2 separate regions of the Homo sapiens genome follow, and region 2 is linked to region 1. The links are contacts of gene promoters, found by promoter capture Hi-C in blood cells and fetal thymus (Javierre and others, 2016). All regions are on one chromosome and are shown on one strand. Each heading gives the region's core, a stretch centred on a gene start or on the middle of the fragment in contact. The rest is flanking DNA. Distances are from core to core; before and after follow the strand shown. Region 1 holds the start of PTPN2 (protein tyrosine phosphatase non-receptor type 2). Region 2 has its middle 77 kb from the start of LDLRAD4.

Region 1 (4,393 bases), core at 286-2,785:
TCTAACATACTCTGTATCATGGGAATCAGAATATTTATACTTCCCACTAATGTGTTCAAGAAGAAAACGTTACTTTCTGAACACATTTTTCACTGCCATCTAATTAAATGGAAAGGGGAAAAACCCAGGATCATCCATTTACAGGAAAGCCCGTCTTTTACTTTACACAGAGAGAACCAAACATCAGAAGCAGCATTAACTTAACCGTCACCAAATTCAATCTTGGGAATAATACGACAAGGATTAAACGAAGGGGAAAGCAGTTACATCATTTTAAAAGAGATAAAGTTTTGTTTGAATTAAAAGGTAGTCTAGTTGACATAAAAAAAGCGAATCACAGGTGTTTATACTACATATTGCATCTATGTGAGCTGAACAGGCACGATTAGGGCGATAGGCATCGGAACACCGTGCCCCCGGGGAGGGGATGAGGGCACTTTCTCAGGGCAAGGAAAGGCTATTTTGATTTGAGGGGGCTTGCAAGAGGGGATTCATTTGTGACACCCGTCTGGGAGCACACATGAAAGCTGCGTTTCACTGTAGGGAAAGTATACCTCAGTAAGGAAAACTATAAAGAGAATGACACGCTATCACTGGACGAACACAAGCAAAGCCTCTTTCGTTCCGGGAAGGTTCTATGGGGGCCGAACCCACGCTGGGCGCTGCTGGGCCACGGGGGAAAATGAAGACGGAGGGTCCCGAGAGCGCTGCCCTCGCCAGAGGCCACGAGCCACCCCCAACCACCGCGGCTCCGCCAGGAGAGCGAGCTTCGCCTCGCAGAGGGCTGCGGCGGCCGGCCCGGCGCCCAGAGCGGCCTGCTCCCACAGGTCCTGCGCGGGCGCCAGCTGGACCCGGACGCCGCGGCCCGGCTCGCCCGCCCCCGCCCTCACCGCTCCCGGGGACGCCAGCTGCCCACCCGGCCACAAAACACCCGGCCAGAGAAAGAGCTGTCCGCGAGCAAGAACCAAGCACAGCGGCGTGGGAGCTACGGCGAAGCTGCGGCCCGGGGGCGCGCGCCCGAGCGCCCCCACGGCTTTCCCAAGGACCCCCAGACCCGGGCCGCGCAACGCTGGTGGCGCATCCACGCGCTCCCCAAGAAGCCGCTGTGGCACCGCCCTCCAGAACTAACTGCGCTTGCGCTAACCATGAGCTGCTCAGCTCAAGTATGCTTTTTTTTTTTTTTTTTTTAAACCAAAAGGAGCAAGAGAGCGGTCAGCGCAGGCGCGCCCCTGACGCGGACCGCGCCGCCACTTCCGCCCCGAGCGAGAGGCTAGAGGCGAGAGGCGGGGGAGGCGGGAGGGACCCTGCGGACAGGGCACGAGTCCGGGTCTCGGAGGAGGTCGGCGACTGCCGCGTGGGTCCGCGACTCACCAAGTACAGCGGCTGCCAGCGACGCTGAGTATCCAACTCTTCGAACTCCCGCTCGATGGTGGTGGGCATGGCTGCGGGAGCGAGCTGGCGCGAGCAGAGCCTGCGCCGGCGGAGAGGCTCAGGCCCCGCACGATCCGGGGAGAGCGCTGGCGCTGCGGCGCATGCGCGCTGCGCGCCGCGCCCCGCCCCCACGCCAAGCCCTGTCGGCCGTGGGGAAAGTACCTGGAGCGTCGGACGTCAGCGCGCAGACTCGGCGCCCGAGCGCGGCGCGAAGTCGGCGGCGGGGCGGGGCGGGGCGCTCGGGGGGCGGGGCTCGGGGTGCCCAGGTGGGAGGGGGCGGGGCCAGGGGACCACCCGGCGGCCGTGGTCCCTGCGCGCGGCACGAGGTGAGCCGCCCCTTGGGCTTGCGTCTTCCGACAAGAGAGAGGCGGTGGTCCGTGGGTAGCGCGGGGTTACTGGAATGGGACTCCCTGAGGAAGTCCCCTGAGAAGTCGCCGGCACGCTCCGCCTTCCTTCTTGCTTCCCATTTCTCGTTTTCTTCTCAGCCTTCATAGTTTTTTAAAGTGCTGTATTTGAATATTATTTTAAACATCATCTAGGTCAGATTAGCGGCCTGTGACCAACTTGGAAACAAATTCCTCATTCTTTTCTGCCCTGGTGTCAGCTCCTGTAAGCCTGCAGATTTTATGCCAAATAAACCGCTGGAGCAAAAGGAAAGGCAGCCAGCCTCTCCCGGAATTTGGGAGAGGGATACCTTGTTAAGAAAACGTTCTACAACTTACGAATTAGATTTAACTGTAAAAAATAGCACGTCCTCTTTTACCAAACAAACGTACTAGTTAGGGAAATCATCTTGCTTCAGATTTAAGATAGTTCTTTTTTAGTGCTTGTAATATCCTGCTATATAATCTTCATAAGAAACGTGAAGGGTTAGGAAAGGTTTAGCCGTGCTGTCCAGTATTGGGATTTAAATTTTAAATATTAACTTAATTCCTCAGTGGCACCAGCCACATTTCAGGTGTGCCATAACCATGTATGGCTAGTGGCTGCTATGTGGCAAAGTACATATGTAGAACGTTTCTATCATCGAAGACAGTTCTTTTGGACAGAGCCGGCCGAGAGGATTACAATACTTGGGGCAGAAAAGTGTCCTTAATCACATAAAATAATGAAAACCCTAGCCAGAAAAAAAAAAAAAAAAGTTGGCTACGGAAGCTAGAAGAAATCGTATTAACAAAAAAGCAGTCAGCAAGCTTTCTACTTACATAGTATGATTTAGAGATACAGGAAAGCTTCCCCCGAAAGACCCCACAATGTCTAATGGTCCTTGGTTCTGAAATTCTGTCATTGAATCTGATTATTTTGATTAAAGGCATGGTATCTCCCAGAATATCCTGTGAATGTTCGCATTAGTCTGCTCATCAGATTGCTTTCCAACCAAAAAATACTGTGTTCTACAAAGGAGGAGCATCTTTATCTCAAAGCAGCAGTTCTTATCGCCAAGTATTCAGCATCTCTTTGGAATTCATTTGTCAGCCTCTCTGGTTCCGGGAGCTGTATTTGCCTATCTTAGTTTGCTGAGTGCAGCGAAGAATCTAGAACAGTGGTTCTCACACCAGCATCATTTGCATCCAGTGTGAGCTTCTTTGAAATGCAAATTTGAAGGCCTCACCCCAAACTACTGAATCAGAATCTCTGGTGTTGGGGCCCCAGGAGACTACTTAAGCAAGCTCTCCTGGGGATGCCTGTGCCCCCCCAGAGTTTGAGAATGATTGCTCCAGAAGAATACCTATACAGGGCTGCACTGAAGCCCGGGGGTAAAAAGAAAACAGAGGTTAACTTGCTTCGAGATATCCTGCTGACAAGATATGACTTGGTCTCTCCGACATATGTGACTCCCAACCCAACTAGTTCCTAGCTTGCTGTTTCTAAAGGACCCCAAATGTAGACTTTTGCCCCTTTTGAAGTCAAGATCAGAAGTTCTCAGGATTTTAAAATGTCAGGCTTCCCTATTGCCCCCAAATTGTTCAAAGTCCTTTGATAGTAGGCATACTTTTATGTGCATACTGTTTATATATTTGAGGAAATATATAATGAACAAAGTCTATTAATTTAAAAAATTACAAATTCATTTAAAAGAATTATGAAATTAAGTAGCAAAGTGTATTTTTAAATAATAGTACATATATGTATGAGATACTCATTTTACAGATAATGCTTGGTGGATTACATATTTGGATTCATAGCAATGTCTTCAACTTACTCCTTGGCCCCTTCAATCCCTGTTTGGGAACCACTGCTCTAGACCAAAGGAAATGAAGCATAGCGAGAGTTTGGAGTCCCTTCTTTCACTGGAACAAGGCCTGCCTTCTGCACTTTAGTATACTGTTTAAGAGGCTCTCTCCCCTCAATGTATAATTTATACCCCTTTCAGAGAAAACTCTACTTACTACCCATAGCCCCTCCTGTGGTTTGAATAATGGTGTCCCCTCCAAAATTCACGTTGAAACTTTATCCTCATGGTGGCAGTATTAAGAGGTTGGCATTTGGGGAAGTGATTAAGTTATGAGGGTTCTGCTCTCATGAATTTGATTAGTGCCTCATAAAAGGACTGGAGGGAATTAGCTTGGGCCGTTTTTGCCCTTCTGTCCTGCCATGTGAAGGCCCCTAGGTGGCACCATGAGGAATGGGCCTTCAGCAGACACCAAACCTGCTGGTGCCTTGACCTTGGACTTCTCAGCCTTCAGAACTGTGAGAAATAAATTTCTGTTATTTGCAAATGACACAGTTGCAGCTATTTCATTATAGCAGCACAAACAGACTACCCTTATAGCTAGAACTTCAGAGGCACAAGCATATCAAAATACAGCCTAAAAGCCTGGTGTCTACAAGAGCTGTACATTTATAGAGCTGGGCAGACATTTGTTATACAAATTCAGATTGTACAGATTACAGTGAGAATGAACTTCAGTTAAATATATGTAGTTTTTAATAAACTTTTAATTGAAATATACACAAAAAT
Region 2 (4,632 bases), core at 565-3,064, 260 kb after region 1:
TCTCCCATCTGCTGGACCCTTCCTGACTGTACATCCCACATGTATTTGATGGTCACCTTAAATTCAGCCATCTCATACCCAGAAAGCATCAGAACACCAGCCTGCTCCGGGGCCAGCAGGTGGCCCTCCTTGCACACCTCATTGTCGGACAGCAGGGTCACCACACCTCTCTCAAAGGTGGTGGGCAGGCCCGGCTGCCTCAGCTGTGGCTTCATGGGGTGGGGAACTGCTCCAGGGGCCCTGGGTCCAGGCTCACGGTGAAAGCTGCTTTGTTACAGCTCAGCTGAAGTCCATTTCCGTGTATTCTGTGAACCACTCATTCACCTCCTCCTTCCAGTGGTTGGTGAACAGGAGATCCGCTTCACCCCTCAACCTTTTGCTGACCTGGTGCAGGTTGTCTTTGCACTCACCCAATGGGCTCCGACCCAAGGCCACCATCATCACCTTGTTTTTGCCAAAGAACATCCGGCTGTGCTTCCAGGCATTCCGGATGTCCTTCAGCTTGCTGTTCCACGTGTTGGCCACAGAGAGATGGAAAGGTACTTATCAGTGTCCACACGTTTCCGAAGCTCTTCTATCAGGTGTTGTTTCAATTCCAGGCCTTTCTTGGCAGTTTTGGTTAGGGACTTCCTTGTCATGCTTGGATTTGGGCATTGTTCTGAAGCCACGTGTGGTGGAAGATGGTGCAGCCCCAATGCTGGTAATTACTGATGGCAGGGGGTGGATGTGTAGGGCTTTATATTATCTCTCCTCTACTTTTGTGTATGTTTACTTTACTATTTATTTTATTTTATTTGAGACAGGGTCGTCTTGCTCTGTCACCCAGGCTGGAGTCCAGTGGCTCAATCTTGGCTCACTGCAACCTCTGCCTCCCAAGCTCAAGTGATCCTCCAACCTCACCCTCTTAAGTCGCTGGGACCACAGGTGCATGCCACCACCCCCGGCTATTTTTTTTCTTTCTTTTTTTTTTTTTTTTTTTTTTTTGTAGAGACAGGGATTTGCCACATTGCCCAGGCTGGTGGTGAACTACTGAGCTTGAACAATACATGCTGGGATTAGAGGGATGAGCCACCACATCCAGCCACTTTTGTGTAAAATGTTGGCTGGGCGCGGTGACTCATGCCTGTAATCCCAGCACTTTGGGAGGCCAAGGTGGGCAGATGACTTGAGGTCAGGAGTTCGAGACCAGCCTGGCCAACATGGCGAAACCCCGACTCTAATAAAAATACAAAAATTAGCCAGGCGTGATAGTGCACACCTGTAATCCCAGCTACTAGGGAGGCTGAGACAGGACAATTGCTTGAACCCAGGGGGCAGAGGTTGCAGTGAGCCGAGATTGCGCCACTGTACTCCAGCCTGGACGACAGAGCGAGACTCCATCTCGATAAATAAAAAATAAATAAATAAATAAATAAATAAAATGTCTGCAATAAAAAATGTTTTAAGTCAAAGAGTAAGATCACAAAAATAATACTCAGATATAACAAGTTTTTCTTCTGTGACTCATGTGAAGGACTCCAGAGGCCAGGATGGTGGTGAGAGCCACTTCCTCCATGTGGCATGTGGGTTGCCCAGTGCTCCAGGCCTGCCCCGCCTCGGGGCCTGGCACCTGCTGCTCCCTTGGCCTGGAATGTTCTCACCCAAGACCCCTGCATCTGACTCTCACCTCCTTCCTTGTGTGTTCCTCGCGTGGCTTTTTCGTGAGGTCTTCCTTAACTTCTCTGAATAAAACTCCCACTTCTCATCCTCCCAATCCCTCTCCCCTCTAGTTTGACACCAAAGTACCTTTCACCCACTGAGGTCCTGTGTGTCACAGAATGAAACTGTAGGGGCAGGGTTTTGTCCTGCTCACCAACGGATATCCTTGGACATTATGTATGTATGTATGTATGTATGTATGTATGTATGTATGTATGTATGTATTTCTGTTTGTTTTTCTTTTTTTTCCTGCTAAACAACCAAACAGGCAAAACCTAGCACAGCGGTTTGTTTTTTTTTTTTTTTTTTTTTTTTTTTTTTCTGAGGCAGAGTCTCACTCTGTCACCCAGGCTGGAGTGCAGTGGCGCGATTTCAGCTCACTGCAAGCTCTGCCTCCCGGATTCACGCCATTCTCCTGCCTCAGCCTCCCGAGCAGCTGGGACTACAGGCACCCGCCACCACGCCTGGCTAATTTTTTGTATTTTTAGTAGAGACGGGGTTCCACTGTGTTAGCCAGGATGGTCTCGATCTCCTGACCTCGTGATCTGCCTGCCTCGGCCTCCCAAAGTGCTGGGATTACAGGCGTGAGCCACCGTGCCTGGCCAACCTAGCACAGTGTTTAACGGTGGGAGGTCCCTGGTGAGTCTCTGCCAGGTCTCGGGTTCCAGGCTTCTGTCAGATGCACCGGCCGCCTAGGTTCCCAGGGCCTTCTATTCTTACAGCAGGTGGCCGCCATGCTTCTGACATTTCCCTGACACACAGGCTGCCTCCAGGGCCATCGCCAAGGACGGTGCAGATTTGCAGGCCTGCGTAAACCCAGCGGACTCCCTAGAGGTTTGGGAAGGAGAGGTCACCATTGTTGGCTCTACTGTGACTGTCCTGACTTGGCCCTCACTGGGTATTAATGCTTCAATTTCACAATGCACTTGGGCAGATGCCCCCTGGTCCTAAGAGAGGCCCCGCTCATCCTAGGCATACTTAATTGGTATTAGAGACGTCCATCTTTTCTGGATGGAGGAAATTGAAGCCTTGAGCCCATGTAATGTTCTCAGTGGAGCAGTTCAACACCAAGACATGCTAGAAACATTGTAGAGGCCTTTACCAACTTAGTCACCCTGCTCAGGGAAAGGGGCTGAGGCTGTCTCTACAGCAGCCACCTCCCTCTGGAAGGAGGAAGGACCCAAGACCCACACCCGCTGTCTACCCAACCAGCCCTAACTCTTCTTGTTGGCTCAAGAGTCCCCTTTCTTCTTCACTGAGCCACAAGACACAGAGCAGTGAGTAGCATCAGAGCAGCCTGTAAGAACCTGGATGCCAGGAACGGAGTGGAACCTGGAAGTTCAGCTTCCAACAGACAAACACAGTCAGAGCTCCCTTTTTAGAGTCCCTCCTGTGTAAACACACAGGGCATACAGGCATGACTTCCAGGAGCTTCACTGCAGCATGGCATGCACAGATAACACAACAGAAGTGACCTCAGTGCTGCTTTTGGAGGACAGATGACACGCATCTTGGTTCATGCAACTCAACACCGCACACATGTAAAATAGAATGAGTAGCTTTGTGTTGTGATATAAAAATGTAAGCTATATTATTGAGTGAAAAGCCAAATTGCCCACCAGTATGCAAAGCAGATTTACTCTTATTAGAAATGGAGGCTGAGCATGGTGGCTCACGCCTGTAATCCTAGCACATCAGGAGGCCAAGGCGGGTGGATTGCTTGAGGCCAGGAGTTTGAGATCAACCTGGGCAACACGGCAAAACTCCATCTCTACAAAAAATACAAAAATTAGCCTGGCCCAGTGGTGCATGCCTGTAGTCCCAGCTACTTGGGAGGCTGGGATAGGAGTATCAATTGAATACAGGATGTGGAGGCTGCAATGAACCAGGATCACACCACTGAACTCCATCCAGTCTGGGTGACAGCAAGATCCTGCCAAAAAAAAAAAAAAAAATCTAGCAGAGGACAGAGGAGTGTATACAGATAAACAAATGCATATTGTGTTTGCATCCCCTATATTAGTTTTCTATTGTTGCATAACAAATGATTACCCAAACACCAGGGGTTTGGTCTAGGTCCTGCTGCTCACAGCACAGAAAGCCAGTCATCAAGACAACCAGTATTGGCAGGGAAGAAAGCTTTAATCGGGTGCTGCAGCTGAAGAGATGGGAATTCAGTCTCAAGTCCGTCTCTCTGACTATCTAAAATTGGGAGTTTATATAGAAGGGAAGAAATGTAACTACATGCAGGAAAACAGTAATTAGGGAAGAATGAGGAAGAGGAGTTGGTCAACAGGCAGCAGGTGGTGCTCAGGCAATCATGAGGGTTGAGGGCCTGGCCACTCATCCTCCAGAGGCTGTGAGCTTGTAAGTTTCAGCTCCTTGATACTACCTGGGAGTCCTGATGGTCGGTTTCCTGAGAAAGGAACTCAGATAAGACAAATGTAACTTTCTCAAGTTTTAAGACTGAGAGGGTCAATTTCTATGTTTATTCAAAAGAAATGATAAACATCAGTTTTATGGGACAATTGGTCAGGTTTCAAAACTACCACAAACTCAGTGGCTGAAAATAATGCCTGCCTTTTTCTCACAGTTCTGTAGGTCAGAAGCCAGCACTGCCTGGCGGATTCTCTGCTCATGGTCTCAGGAGGCTGAAATCGAGGTGTCAGTCAGCTACATTCTCATCTGCAGCTTGGAATCCTCTTCCAAACTCATTCAGTATTTGGCAGCATTCAATTTCTTCTTGGCCATCAGCCAGGAGTCCCTGTCTCCTCCTAGAGGTTTCCCAGCTTCTTCAGCAGATCACAACATAGATGCGTCCTTTCCTGGTTGGTATCTGTGGGGGATTGGTCCTGGGTTCCTGGGACCTGTGCAGATAGCAAAATCAGCAGGTTCTCCTGACCTGCAGTCGGCCCTGCAGAACCCGTGGGTAGG

The links. The method cuts DNA at HindIII sites, captures the fragments that hold promoters and counts their contacts. A CHiCAGO score of 5 or more calls a contact.
Region 2: a contact is called between a fragment that was not itself captured here and the fragment with the promoter of PTPN2 in region 1, in 1 of 17 cell types (naive B cells). The highest score is 5.3, in naive B cells.

Annotation. Positions count from the first base shown.
Region 1 is chr18:12,882,702-12,887,094 of GRCh38, forward strand. PTPN2 (protein tyrosine phosphatase non-receptor type 2) reads right to left here and starts at 1,536. Exons shown (of 9, transcript NM_002828.4): 1 at 1,372-1,536. The coding sequence starts at 1,440. RefSeq lists silencers at 739-1,078, 1,459-1,748, 3,108-3,157. The HindIII fragment of the contact is 3,601 bases long and covers 1-2,622 here.
Region 2 is chr18:13,139,836-13,144,467 of GRCh38, forward strand. It overlaps the pseudogene LOC646203. Among named protein-coding and RNA genes, the nearest start is that of LDLRAD4, 77 kb to the right of the region's middle. The HindIII fragment of the contact is 4,042 bases long and covers 1-3,835 here.